Regions from separate parts of the Homo sapiens genome. Here regions 1, 3 and 4 are each linked to region 2. Evidence: promoter capture Hi-C in 16 types of primary human blood cells and fetal thymus (Javierre and others, 2016). All regions are on one chromosome and are shown on one strand. Each heading gives the region's core, a stretch centred on a gene start or on the middle of the fragment in contact. The rest is flanking DNA. Distances are from core to core; before and after follow the strand shown.

Region 1 (2,700 bases), core at 149-2,648, 840 kb after region 2:
TTACTTGCCCCATTTTAGGGGTGAAAAAGCCTTGCCTTTTACATTATGGAAAGCAAGTTGCTTCAAAGATGGCTGAGCTTGATGTTTCTTCTTCCCGTGGCACTAATGACATCTTGGATGACGTAATTTTTTTTTCTTTCTTTCTCTTGGTTGAGGGCGGGGTATGTTTGAGCCCTGTACATTGCAGGATGTTTATCAGCATCTCTCGCCTCTACACACTAGATGCCAGTAGCATGTTCCCCACAAATAGTGACAATCACAAAATCTTTCTTGGTTGAGCACCACTGTCTTAGATCCAAATCGGTATTAATTTTTCTCCATCTTCATCCTTCTTTTTGTTCTCTTATATACTGTTCTCAATGTAACTGTATTCATATATATGCTTGAATTCCCAACTTTCCGAGATGTTGTTTAATGAGACTCACCCTTATTTTTCAATTCTTCCTTCATTCTCTCCCTCTTAACTGGTTTCCTCTTACCCAAGAAAAGCCTTTCTCTTAACTGCAAGCTTATTTGAATTTTACCTTATTGAATATCTTTCAACTATTTGGCAGACCTTTAACTTTCCCTACCATGCCAATGGTCACTAAACACCTTAAATGCCACTCTTAACACCTTAAATGCCACCCTTAACAGTATTCTTTCAGTCCTCATTCCATAAAAATTTCTTAACATGTTACTTTAGGTGGATTCCTTTACCTCAGGGGTTTCTCAAAGACTCATTTGAAGGACTGTTTAAAAAAATCATATTGTTAGGTCCCATTTCCAGAATCTGATTCTGTAAGTCTGACGTGGAGTTTGAGAATATGCATTTTCATAATTTCCCAGGTGATACTGATTCTGTGCATTTGGGGATCATGCTCTATCTTAAAATTCCAAACTCTTGGCTTCTGAGACACTATACATTCCTCTGGTTCTCCTTGAAAGCCTCAGATCAATCCTTTCCAGACAAAACTGACTTCAAATACCAGTTTTAAGACATAAGAAAAACAAGATCATAGTTTCCTTGTCACAGACATGATGAATTTTCTGATTAGCAAATGAACACTAAATAAAAAGCTAGTCATCATCATAATCATAACTACTGAGAAGCTCTCCATTAATGATCTTTTATTGTCTAATGCCAATCTTCTCTTTTAATTCATTTCACTAAAGTCCTAAATAAATCTTTTGAAATAGCACAACAGGAAAATTACCAGGCTGAATATCTGAAAGAATATTAATACAACATACTTAACACCAATTATATTAGTAGTAATCAGAAACTATGCCAGACACATAGCAATCTGATTCAAAGCCACATTTAAGCTTATTTAAGGAACCGTAACAGCCTTCACATCAAAATTTTGCCTCACAGTCTCCATCTTCAATATTGTTTACATTATAGTCTCGTATTTTCTATGACCCAGACCTTATTTTCACTGTATTATTATTTTTTCATATATGTCTCCTTATTTTAAACCACTGCAAAACCTTCATCAGAGACATTAAAGCTTAAGTTGTGGAAGAGTGTATAATAGCCCTCCTAAGAATCTGTCCTCCCCTTCTTTCTGGGCACATGGCTGCTTAGCTAAAAGCTAAGTTTTCTAGCCTCCTTTGTGTAGCTAGTTGTGGCCCTGTGACTAAATTCTCAGCAACTGAACCCAAATGAAGGAGGTGAGCAGAACTTCTACATCATTAGCTTTAAGAAGAACTGTTCTTTCTACTTTTTCCAAGTTAAAATGTGAAATGGGGGCAGCATACCCCTAACTCTGCAGAGAAGGTTAACATGCTAGCGCACTGGTTCTCAAACTATGGTCCAACAGTATCAATATCACCTGGAAATTTAGAAATGAAATTTTCAGACTCCACCCCAGACTTACTAATTCAAATTCTTCAGGTAAGGCTAAACAATTTGTGTTTTTAACCGTTGTAGAACATGATCAAGTCTAGAAAGTCACTAAGATAAAGGAACCTATCAAGAGTAGTAAATGTTAAGTTTTCATTGAATAAGGACTGAAATCTTTCTACTGGCTGTGACGTTTAACACAGTAACCTTTGGCATAGCGCGAATAATTTTTTTTTTTGGAGACAGGATCTCGCTCTTTTGCACAGTCTAGAGTGCAGTGGCACCATCGCAGCTCACTGCAGCCTTGACCTCCTGGGCTCAGGTTCTCCCACCTCAGCCTCCTGAGTAGCTGGGACTACAGGCATGCACCACCACACCCGGCTAATTATTATTATTATTATTTTGTATTTTTAGTAGGGACCGGGTTTCATCGTGTTACCCAGGCTGGTCTTGAACTTCTGGACTCAAGCAGTTGCCAGCCTCAGCCTCTCAAAGTGCTGGGATTATGGGCATGAGCCACCGTGCCCGGCCAGAAGAAATTTTTTAAAAATCCTCCACTTCATTCTGATACACTGAATTTTGAGAACCACTGCCTTAAGGGATGGCAATATGCCCTGCCCTAGACCAAAAAGACTGTTACTTCAAGAAAAAAACTTATTTAAGCCATTGTAACCTAGCATTTATCCTAATACAATGGTTAATGGAAGAGACCCTGTAATCAAAACTGCATGGATTCAAATTCTGGCTTCACTATTCAGCAGCTGTTGAACTTGGGCAAGTCACTTCACCTCTCCATTTCCTTAGTTATATAAACTTATATAACAAAAACAGTAAGTACCCTTATAAGGTAAGACTGTCATAAAAATTGAGAT
Region 2 (2,700 bases), core at 135-2,634:
GGTAGTAGTAGGTGTACATAATAGATGCCACCATTCACGTAAGTCTTTATTGGAAAACTGGGACGTGACACCATCAGCTTACACAACAGAAAAACACAAACTAAGTTCCTGACAGCGGAATGATGAACCACCCAACTTGAGTTAAAAAGAAACAAAAGTACACCACTGTATCTTAATAAGTATCCAGTCTTTGGGTTAAAATTGTATTCTCTTTCCCCAGTTTTAGTCATTTTGTAACAAATTTTAACAAGCCTGATAGGTATTTCATGGCCATGTCTGAAGTTGGCTGAACTTAAGCATCCCTATATAACACACTTTACACTTAGTAACTTGCTAGTTACCTATGGTTAACAAATGTTTCATATGGTATGTTTTTAAAACTTTCAGTGAAACACTTTAACATTTTTAACCCAGCAAAACAAACAAAAACTGTGTCTAATAACCCACACGAGTAGAAAAATGACCTTAAGCTTAACCTTAAACACAGATATAATAAGTAAAACAAATGGAGAGAAGTCCATCTCTATTCAGGAGGCAGAAGAACCCCCCCTGCCCCCAACACACACAAAGACGGGTGGCAGTGGAGGGCAGGCTCATAAACCAGAGGTGTAATGGACAAGTCGAGCGATTCCTCCCGTTTTCCGCATTCTGCAACCCTCGGTCGCTCAGTGGTGCGGTTAGGGCAGCAATCTATAACCTTCATTCCAGAAGACCCCAGCACTTCTATGTGGTGTCCAAACACAACTGGTGAGCAAAGAAAGGGCTGAAAGACAGGCCAGGCCGTGCTACTCAGGGACGTCGGACCTAGGGCAAGAAACCTTTACCACTCTCATTCGAAATCGGAGCAATGGGTCTATTACGGAAAAGACTTCTTAGGAAGGTCTCCTAAGACAAAGGGCTGCGAGTCAGGAACCATCCCCAAGCTCGGGAGCCGGGACCGAACCGTCCCGGGCCCGTATCCGCGCAGCCTGCACCCCGCGCTGAGCTGGCGCCCGACCGAGCCGCCCACATTCCGAAGTATTCGGAGACCCCCACCTAGCCGGCCCGAGCTGACCCTCTCCCCAACCCGTACGCCCGCGGACCGAGCTCCTCACCCTGGTGATTGAACAGTCTCCATATTCTAGTGAAGAGAATTCCCATTCTCGGGCAGCGGACCCCCCCCCTCCAGACACCCGGGCCGCCTGGCTTCCCCCGGCTCAGGCTGAGGGGGAGGAGAGAGACGCGCTGGAGCCTCCGCCTCTGCTGCTGCTCCCGCGCTGGTCGCGGGCCCGCTTCCAGGGAACCGGAGGGAGGCCGAAGCCCAGGCCGCCCTGCCGCGCGCAAGGCCCCGCCGCTGCCGCCGCGGCACTCGCCTGGCTCGCGGACATCGCCGCCGCGTTGTCTGCGACGAGCCTCGCGGGCCACCGTCCTCCCCCAGCTCCTCTCGGGCGGCTGCGGTGGCGACGACCACGCGGGCGGGGGAAGTGAAGGGGCGGGCCTGGAGGGACGTGAGTGCGCAGGCGCGCGGCCAGAGGGGCGGAGCGTAGGAAAGGGCGCCCGCCCTGTCCTCGCTTATTTGCATAACCAAGACTGCGGAAGGCGCAGGACTTTACCCTGGGACTGAGGCTGTGAAGACCGCAAGTTGGGGCAGATGGCTTCCGACTGCTTGCTGTTGCGTCCCCGAGTATTTATATTTCCCTCGAATCTTCTCCACTGCGCCATAATGTAAACATATAATTGAGTACCCCATGTCCATCCCCAACCCTTCACATACACTACACTTAAAGTTCCACGTCATGACTCTTTAAGACATTGTGTCCCCTGTGGGTCTTTGAGGGAAAAGTCTGCTGCCCTCTGACACTCAGCTGAAGTCAGTGGCCTTACCTAGATAGTCACCTTAAAGCCATTTTTGCACTTCAGGGCTCTTTTCTCTCCAATCTCTTAACTCTCACGTCAGTATTGCCCAAAACAACGATTTTGATCAAGTCACTACCCTGTTTAAAAACCTTTAGTGGCCACCAAAGCTCCATCCCTTTCTGTTCTCGTTAACCTTAGTAAAAAGGAAAATAAAGAAAAATTGGGAGACTTGTAGGAGCCATTTGAACTGCTTTGCACTCCCATCCCCAACAGCTGAATGAAATTAAGCAAAATCAGCAATAAACCGCACCTTCCCAACTCACTTCTCCTAACTACCCAGTATTTTACCTCAAAATATAGAAAAGTAATTTCGTTGACTTCTTTTGGGGCTTTATGGTTAAAAAGCCAAAGTTTAGAGGAGCCATACATGAAGGGAAGGAAAATCATAGTAATCCATATTAATTTATGTATTATCATGTCTGGATTTACTTAATATTCTGTACACTGTTTAGAAGAACAATGTAGTTTGTATAACCAATTTGCATTAACTCTGTAATATTTCCATTCTCGCACACCGTAGGTAATGCTTTGGTAGCTCTAAGACTTTTTCAGACTCCCACACAGATGTCAACTTATGAAATGGATGTCATATACACATTATGTGATGGCGGAGCTTCATATTTTACAATCTACCCAAGGAAATGGTCTCCCAGGTTATTTTCCGAGTGAAGAAAGAAGAGAGAGAGAGAGACAGAGACAGAGAGTTTAAAGACCAATTTATCTATGATTACAGAGAAATGCAAAATGTCATTGGAGAGACTTCTGACTTCAGGCATGAGAGAGTAGGATGGTTTGAATATATCC
Region 3 (2,700 bases), core at 35-2,534, 800 kb after region 2:
CTTCTAAGGTTTGTTTGTAAACATGTGGTCTGCAACCAAGAATTTAGGATGTCCAAATATGGCAAGTTTTTGCCCTCTCTGCTATCTAGTAACATGAGTAATAATCTTTGCTCTCCAACACTTTTTATTTGTCCCAACCATTGTCCTAATATTGTAACTGTAATGCAGCAAATTAGTTGCCTGAGTTAAAAGAAAAAAAAAAATCAACCCTTGGCCCTTAAGACGTCTTTTAATACAATGATGTGTTAGTCAACCAAATGATGACCTCAAATGGCTCTGGCCAAGGCCATGTGTGTTGTTTTCCAGCTTTAAAAACCTACTTGCGCGCCTCTTGCCAACCTTCCTCCAGTGTCAAAGTGTCATCTGCAAGGACTGTTGTCTGATTGTTCCTGAGGGTCGTAGGCTTTTGGTGGGATCTTAATTCCATTCTCTTTGATGTCTTTAGCTGTGAAAATTAAGAAGCCAATCAAGACGAAGTTCAGAATGCCAGTGTTTAACTGGGTTGCTCTGAAGCCCAATCAGATCAATGGCACAGTCTTCAATGAAATTGATGATGAGCGAATTCTGGAGGTATTTTTCTCATTGGTTAGAAACTAGAGGTGCACTCTGTGCAGCAAAGCCGGCATGGGTGTTCTGTTAACCTGGAAGTGTCAGAGATAAAGTACTAGTGTTTTAAGTCCCCTGATGTAAAGAAGAAACATGTATGTAATATTGGAGAATAACATTTGACACTGTTTTGTAAGGTGGCTCTAAAACTGTTCAAAGAGTTATGTTAAATTGGAATAAATGCTTTTGAGCATCTTTAGTGTATGCCACAGAATATAGATCTGACATAATAATTCCTTCCCTTAATTGAGAGAAAGACATAAAAACTTTTGGACTGCAAGTGAGCTCAATTATCACACTCACTGCCTTATCTGATGGATAATTTTAATCTGTGGCAGCTGTCTGTGCAAGCTAATTATTGAAAAGTAATTGAATTAGTGGGTTAGAATCGGTAGTCTAATGTTCACTTATTTTTTTATTTTATTTTATTTTTAAATTATTATTATTATTATTTTTTGAGACGGAGTCTCACTCTGTCGCCCAGGCTGGAATGCAGTGGCGCAACCTCGGCTCACTGCAACCTCTTCCTCCTAGGTTCAAGCAATTCTCTGGCTTAGCCTCCCAAGTAGCTGAGATTACAGGCACACACTACCATGTCTGGCTATTCTTTGTGTTTTTAGTAGAGAGCGCATTTCATCATGTTGGCCAGGCTGGTCTCAAACTCCTGACCTTAAGTGATCCACCCGCCTTGGCCTCCCAAAGTGCTGGGATTACAGGCATAAGCCACCACATCCGACCTATGTTCACTTTTGTGTATGTGCCAGAAGTTGTACTATAACAAAAACAAGAAAAATAGAGGAAGCCATGGCCAAAGACAAGTACTTAATAGAAAAAGTGACGTTTTTGCTTAAGAAACTAACTGGTGGCTTCCGGACTTCATTTTTAAATATAATCCAATTTTCCATGGTCATTCCTCTCTATCTTAGGATTTAAATGTGGATGAATTTGAGGAAATATTCAAGACAAAAGCCCAAGGACCTGCCATTGATCTTTCTTCAAGCAAACAGAAGATACCACAGAAGGGATCAAACAAAGTGACATTACTAGAAGCAAACAGGGCCAAAAATCTTGCCATAACTTTAAGGAAAGCTGGAAAGACTGCTGATGAAATATGTAAAGCTATTCATGTGTAAGTTCAGGAAAATTATATTCTAGTTAGTTTATGATAAAATGAAAATGAGAAAGTTATGAATTAGTAGATGACAAATATTTCAATAGTGAGACAAGACCTAAGATAAAAGCTGGAGCAATTTTTGATATCCACACTTGAGAGATCTGAACTCTGTGTGTGCTACTTCAAAGTTGAATATGATGCCAACACGAAAGAGGTAGACCAGAAATCACCCTGGGGAGTGTTGTATTAGAACCAGTAACTAATTGTTTTAGAAGAATAACATCTGGATTGTGACATCATTTATTATCTGGGTCTACTCTCTTATGCGGGCCTCCAGCAATGCTTACATAAAAGGAAAGTTGAGCTGAGCGTGGCAGATGTTAAGAAAAGGTAGAAAATGTCAGTTTTCTCTGGAGTATCTGGATTTTATCCAGATTTGTTGAATACAAATTTGATGGCATTTGTGGAATGATACAGTTCAATGCCAGATGCAAATATGATACAGATGCATATTTTAATTCGTAACAACAGGAATGTGAATTGTTTTGCTTTCAGTACTTTCAGGACATTTTAAACAAAGTTCATTTTTTACTCTTGAACTGCATAGAAGGCATTGGTTTTACTCCTCTATTAGAAGAATCCTTCTATTCTTCTTGTGGCCATGGTGACTTTCAAATGTGATGAAGACATTATTAAATGTTTTAGGAACTAATTATTTATAAATTGATTATCTTATACATTTTGGTTAGAGGCTTCGAGGTGTAAATGACCCTAAGAAATCCTTTGTTCCAATTTTGTGTCCTCAACCAGGGTCATAATCTGGTAGTCCAGTGCCTCCTACAGTCTGTTCTGATTTCTGTCATTGAATCCTGAAGTGCAGCCTGGCTTTAAATCTTTATATATCTTGTTTGTCATGATGATTAAATGTAATTCTATTATTTAGCTGAACAAAGATTGTCCAGAGAATAATAGAGAATAGA
Region 4 (2,700 bases), core at 35-2,534, 570 kb before region 2:
AAACATAAAGATGTAAATTTTGTTTGGTAAGAACTAGTTTCTATGAATCATCTAATGAATTAGTACTTCAATGACTTGCCAATATTTGTCCTTAACTCCCTTTCATAGGTTGGAGAAAGTATGGCTAACATAGATAATTTTACTGAGGTCAATTATGAATAATGAGGGTTGTTCATCTCTTCTACCCACGATTAAGATAAAGAAATGCCTAGAGAAAGACAGTCCTTTCAAGGACTTTGAAACGAGCAGCTTTTAGCCAAGACATACTAACGTGATGGCGCATTTCCTTGCATCAGTATTGTGTTATAACAGACTTGGCCATCTTATCAGAAAGCAAAAAGTATATAGCAAAACTTTACTTTTGTAAGTAAGGCATTGGGAAGAAACAGAAGATTCATTGACTGCATTTGTTTATATTGATTTTCTCAAAATCAGTTGTTTATTTTCAATGACGACGCCTCTACCGCCACCAGGTCAACAAAAACGTACTTGCTTTTGCATTTCCGGGACTCTAGCATTTCAGAGCAGGAATTAAAGGCCTTGCCAAGGCTTTTAAGCGATTGATGGAAACAAAACAAAACACAGAAGGATAAATTTTGAATTTGCTAAGACAAGAATTCGCACCAAGGCAGACATAAGACATGAGGATGTCTTCCTGACTTGCGTCCTTGGCTCGAATCGTTCTTATTAGCCCTTTTCAAAAGGCAGCTGTGACCTCCATTTCTGGCTAATCAGGCCACTTTTGTTCCCCCCGAGGCGTGGGAGGACAACAGTTAAGCCCTAACAGCCTGCGAAGCAGCTCCTCGACGAACGGCGGCGTCCCCGTCGCCTGGGCAGTGGGTGTGGGAGGTGACAGCCTAGTCCTGAGCCTCTGGAGCGGGCCTATACTGCACCGCCGTACGTGAATTTCAGGAGCGCGCAATGCCGCCACCTGGGAAGGGTGCAGCGAGGCTGACCTGAGTTTGCCCGCCGGGGTGGACGGCTCTCCGGGGCCCCCGGGGTCCCTGGGGCCCCTCCGTGCGCCGCCCCCTCCCGCGCAGCCCTGCACCCTGGCCCGTCGCGCCCGGTTCCGCGCCCTTCTAGGGGACCATGGCGACGGTACAGGCACGGACCTGCACCGCAAAACCCAAAGCAAAAGCAACTTGCCATGGCGGAGGGGAGACGCGCCCTCAGCGGCCGCAGAAAGCCCACAACCAGCGGAACGCAGGCGATGGGGAGAGGAGCGAGCAGGCAGGTTTTGGTTTCGTTTTTTGTTCCAGCTCCCTTGGAGGCTACGAAGAAAAGGGCGGTCCTTCCACCCGATCCGGCTGTTCTGCGACCTCGTGGCCTCTGAGTGGGAGCTCGGACTCAGGAGTGCTGTTGCCAGCGCCTGCCCAGACGCCCTCCGTAGTTTTGCAACTTGTGGAAGCACTCTGGAGAGAGGCCGAGAGGATTCCTCGACAGGAAATTTGGGAATTCTCTGGGTGATGCATCAGTGATTGCAATTTTGTTTTTACCCGTTTTGCTAAGCAGCAGCAACAACGGCAGAGTTGATTTAAAAAAAGAAAAAACGCAAAAAGGGAAAACACATAGTAGGTGGTGGCCGCTTCCTGTGTTGATACTGGGGGGCTACGCTTTTCCTAACATCAATCATCTCGTAGTTGCAGAGAGCCCTAGATGTCATGATAGTTTTGAATCGCATGCATTATCATGTAAGGGAGTTAAATATCTTGCATGCATGCTCTCTTCTGTGTTTATATATTCGATGCCATGAAATTGAAGGGCATGTGGCTAAAACCTTTTTACTACATGAAACTTTACAACACTTTTGAAAACATTTCAATTTGGTTGATGCGCACTGTAATATTTCTCCAGATAACTGTCCAAAATTTTCCATGGAGAAGGCTTTTATCCTCATTAGTTGCTGGCCTCAAACTAACCATCTAGGATATTAAACTTCTGCCAGAATTTTACATCCAGCTACCTTTACTTTTTAGAACGTATTCTCTATCATGTTATTGATATCAATTTCTACTTCACACAGATGGTTTTTTACAACAGCAAATCAAGTTTTTCTAACATCAGTTTTAAAAAGCCCTGCACTCAGTGAAATCTGGATGTCTTTCCTACGCCCTTATTATCTGTCCAGACTTCTTCCCCTTCCCCCACCGCTCACCTGGGCCTTTTCCTCTGCACAACCTACCCCAGTTCCCCAACCCCCACCTCAACCCCCAACGCCGTGTTGGTCACCTTCCCAGCCCAGACCAGGAGCCCTCTTGGACCTCTGCCGGGTGCTAAGGACACAGGATGAGAGCGCCAGGTCCCTGCCAGCAGAGAGCTCACCACCTTGTCCATGCCTTAGCACAGGAACCCCGAATGGCGCCTGTGGGGACACAGGGAATCTCTGGACAAACTTCAAAATCAAATCAATGAATGCATGAAGAACAAAGGTAGATGGCTAGCAGATATGAAGAAACCCAATCCCACTCCTAAGAAATGTAAATTGAAATAATAAGATACCATTTTTCACAACTAGATCTGCAAAACCAGAAAGTGTTAGCCTGAATGTAAGCATCAGAGTTGCTGCAAGCATAGATGGATGCAAATACTTCTAAAGATTTTTATCAAAATGTAAAGTGCAAAAAAATGTAAAATGCACATATTCTTAGTCTCAGCAATTCTACTTTTAGAACTGAACTTGAAGTTATAGTGCGCAAATGG

Evidence for each region. The method cuts DNA at HindIII sites, captures the fragments that hold promoters and counts their contacts. A CHiCAGO score of 5 or more calls a contact.
Region 1: a fragment that was not itself captured here is called in contact with the fragment with the promoter of ARL5A in region 2 in 1 of 17 cell types (total B cells); the score reaches 5.8 in total B cells.
Region 3: a fragment that was not itself captured here is called in contact with the fragment with the promoter of ARL5A in region 2 in 1 of 17 cell types (neutrophils); the score reaches 5.6 in neutrophils.
Region 4: a contact is called between the fragment with the promoter of RBM43 here and the fragment with the promoter of ARL5A in region 2, in 8 of 17 cell types (non-activated CD4 T cells, fetal thymus, total CD4 T cells and 5 more). The highest score is 12.0, in non-activated CD4 T cells.

What each region holds. Positions count from the first base shown.
Region 1 is chr2:152,665,936-152,668,635 of GRCh38, forward strand. The region is part of intron 16 of PRPF40A (pre-mRNA processing factor 40A); the gene reads right to left. Among named protein-coding and RNA genes, the nearest start is that of PRPF40A, 50 kb to the right of the region's middle. The HindIII fragment of the contact is 185 bases long and covers 1,307-1,491 here.
Region 2 is chr2:151,827,037-151,829,736 of GRCh38, forward strand. ARL5A (ARF like GTPase 5A) reads right to left here and starts at 1,385. Exons shown (of 6, transcript NM_012097.4): 1 at 1,095-1,385. The coding sequence starts at 1,140. RefSeq lists silencers at 1,001-1,050, 1,101-1,610 and an enhancer at 1,661-1,710. The HindIII fragment of the contact is 9,661 bases long and covers 469-2,700 here.
Region 3 is chr2:152,624,993-152,627,692 of GRCh38, forward strand. It overlaps FMNL2 (formin like 2), which reads left to right. Exons shown (of 26, transcript NM_052905.4): 16 at 446-570; 17 at 1,533-1,735. Among named protein-coding and RNA genes, the nearest start is that of PRPF40A, 91 kb to the right of the region's middle. The HindIII fragment of the contact is 5,332 bases long and covers 1-2,700 here.
Region 4 is chr2:151,260,579-151,263,278 of GRCh38, forward strand. It overlaps RBM43 (RNA binding motif protein 43), which reads right to left and starts at 1,285. Exons shown (of 4, transcript NM_198557.3): 1 at 1,147-1,285. The coding sequence starts at 1,149. RefSeq lists a silencer at 829-1,098 and an enhancer at 1,139-1,368. The HindIII fragment of the contact is 8,034 bases long and covers 1-2,700 here.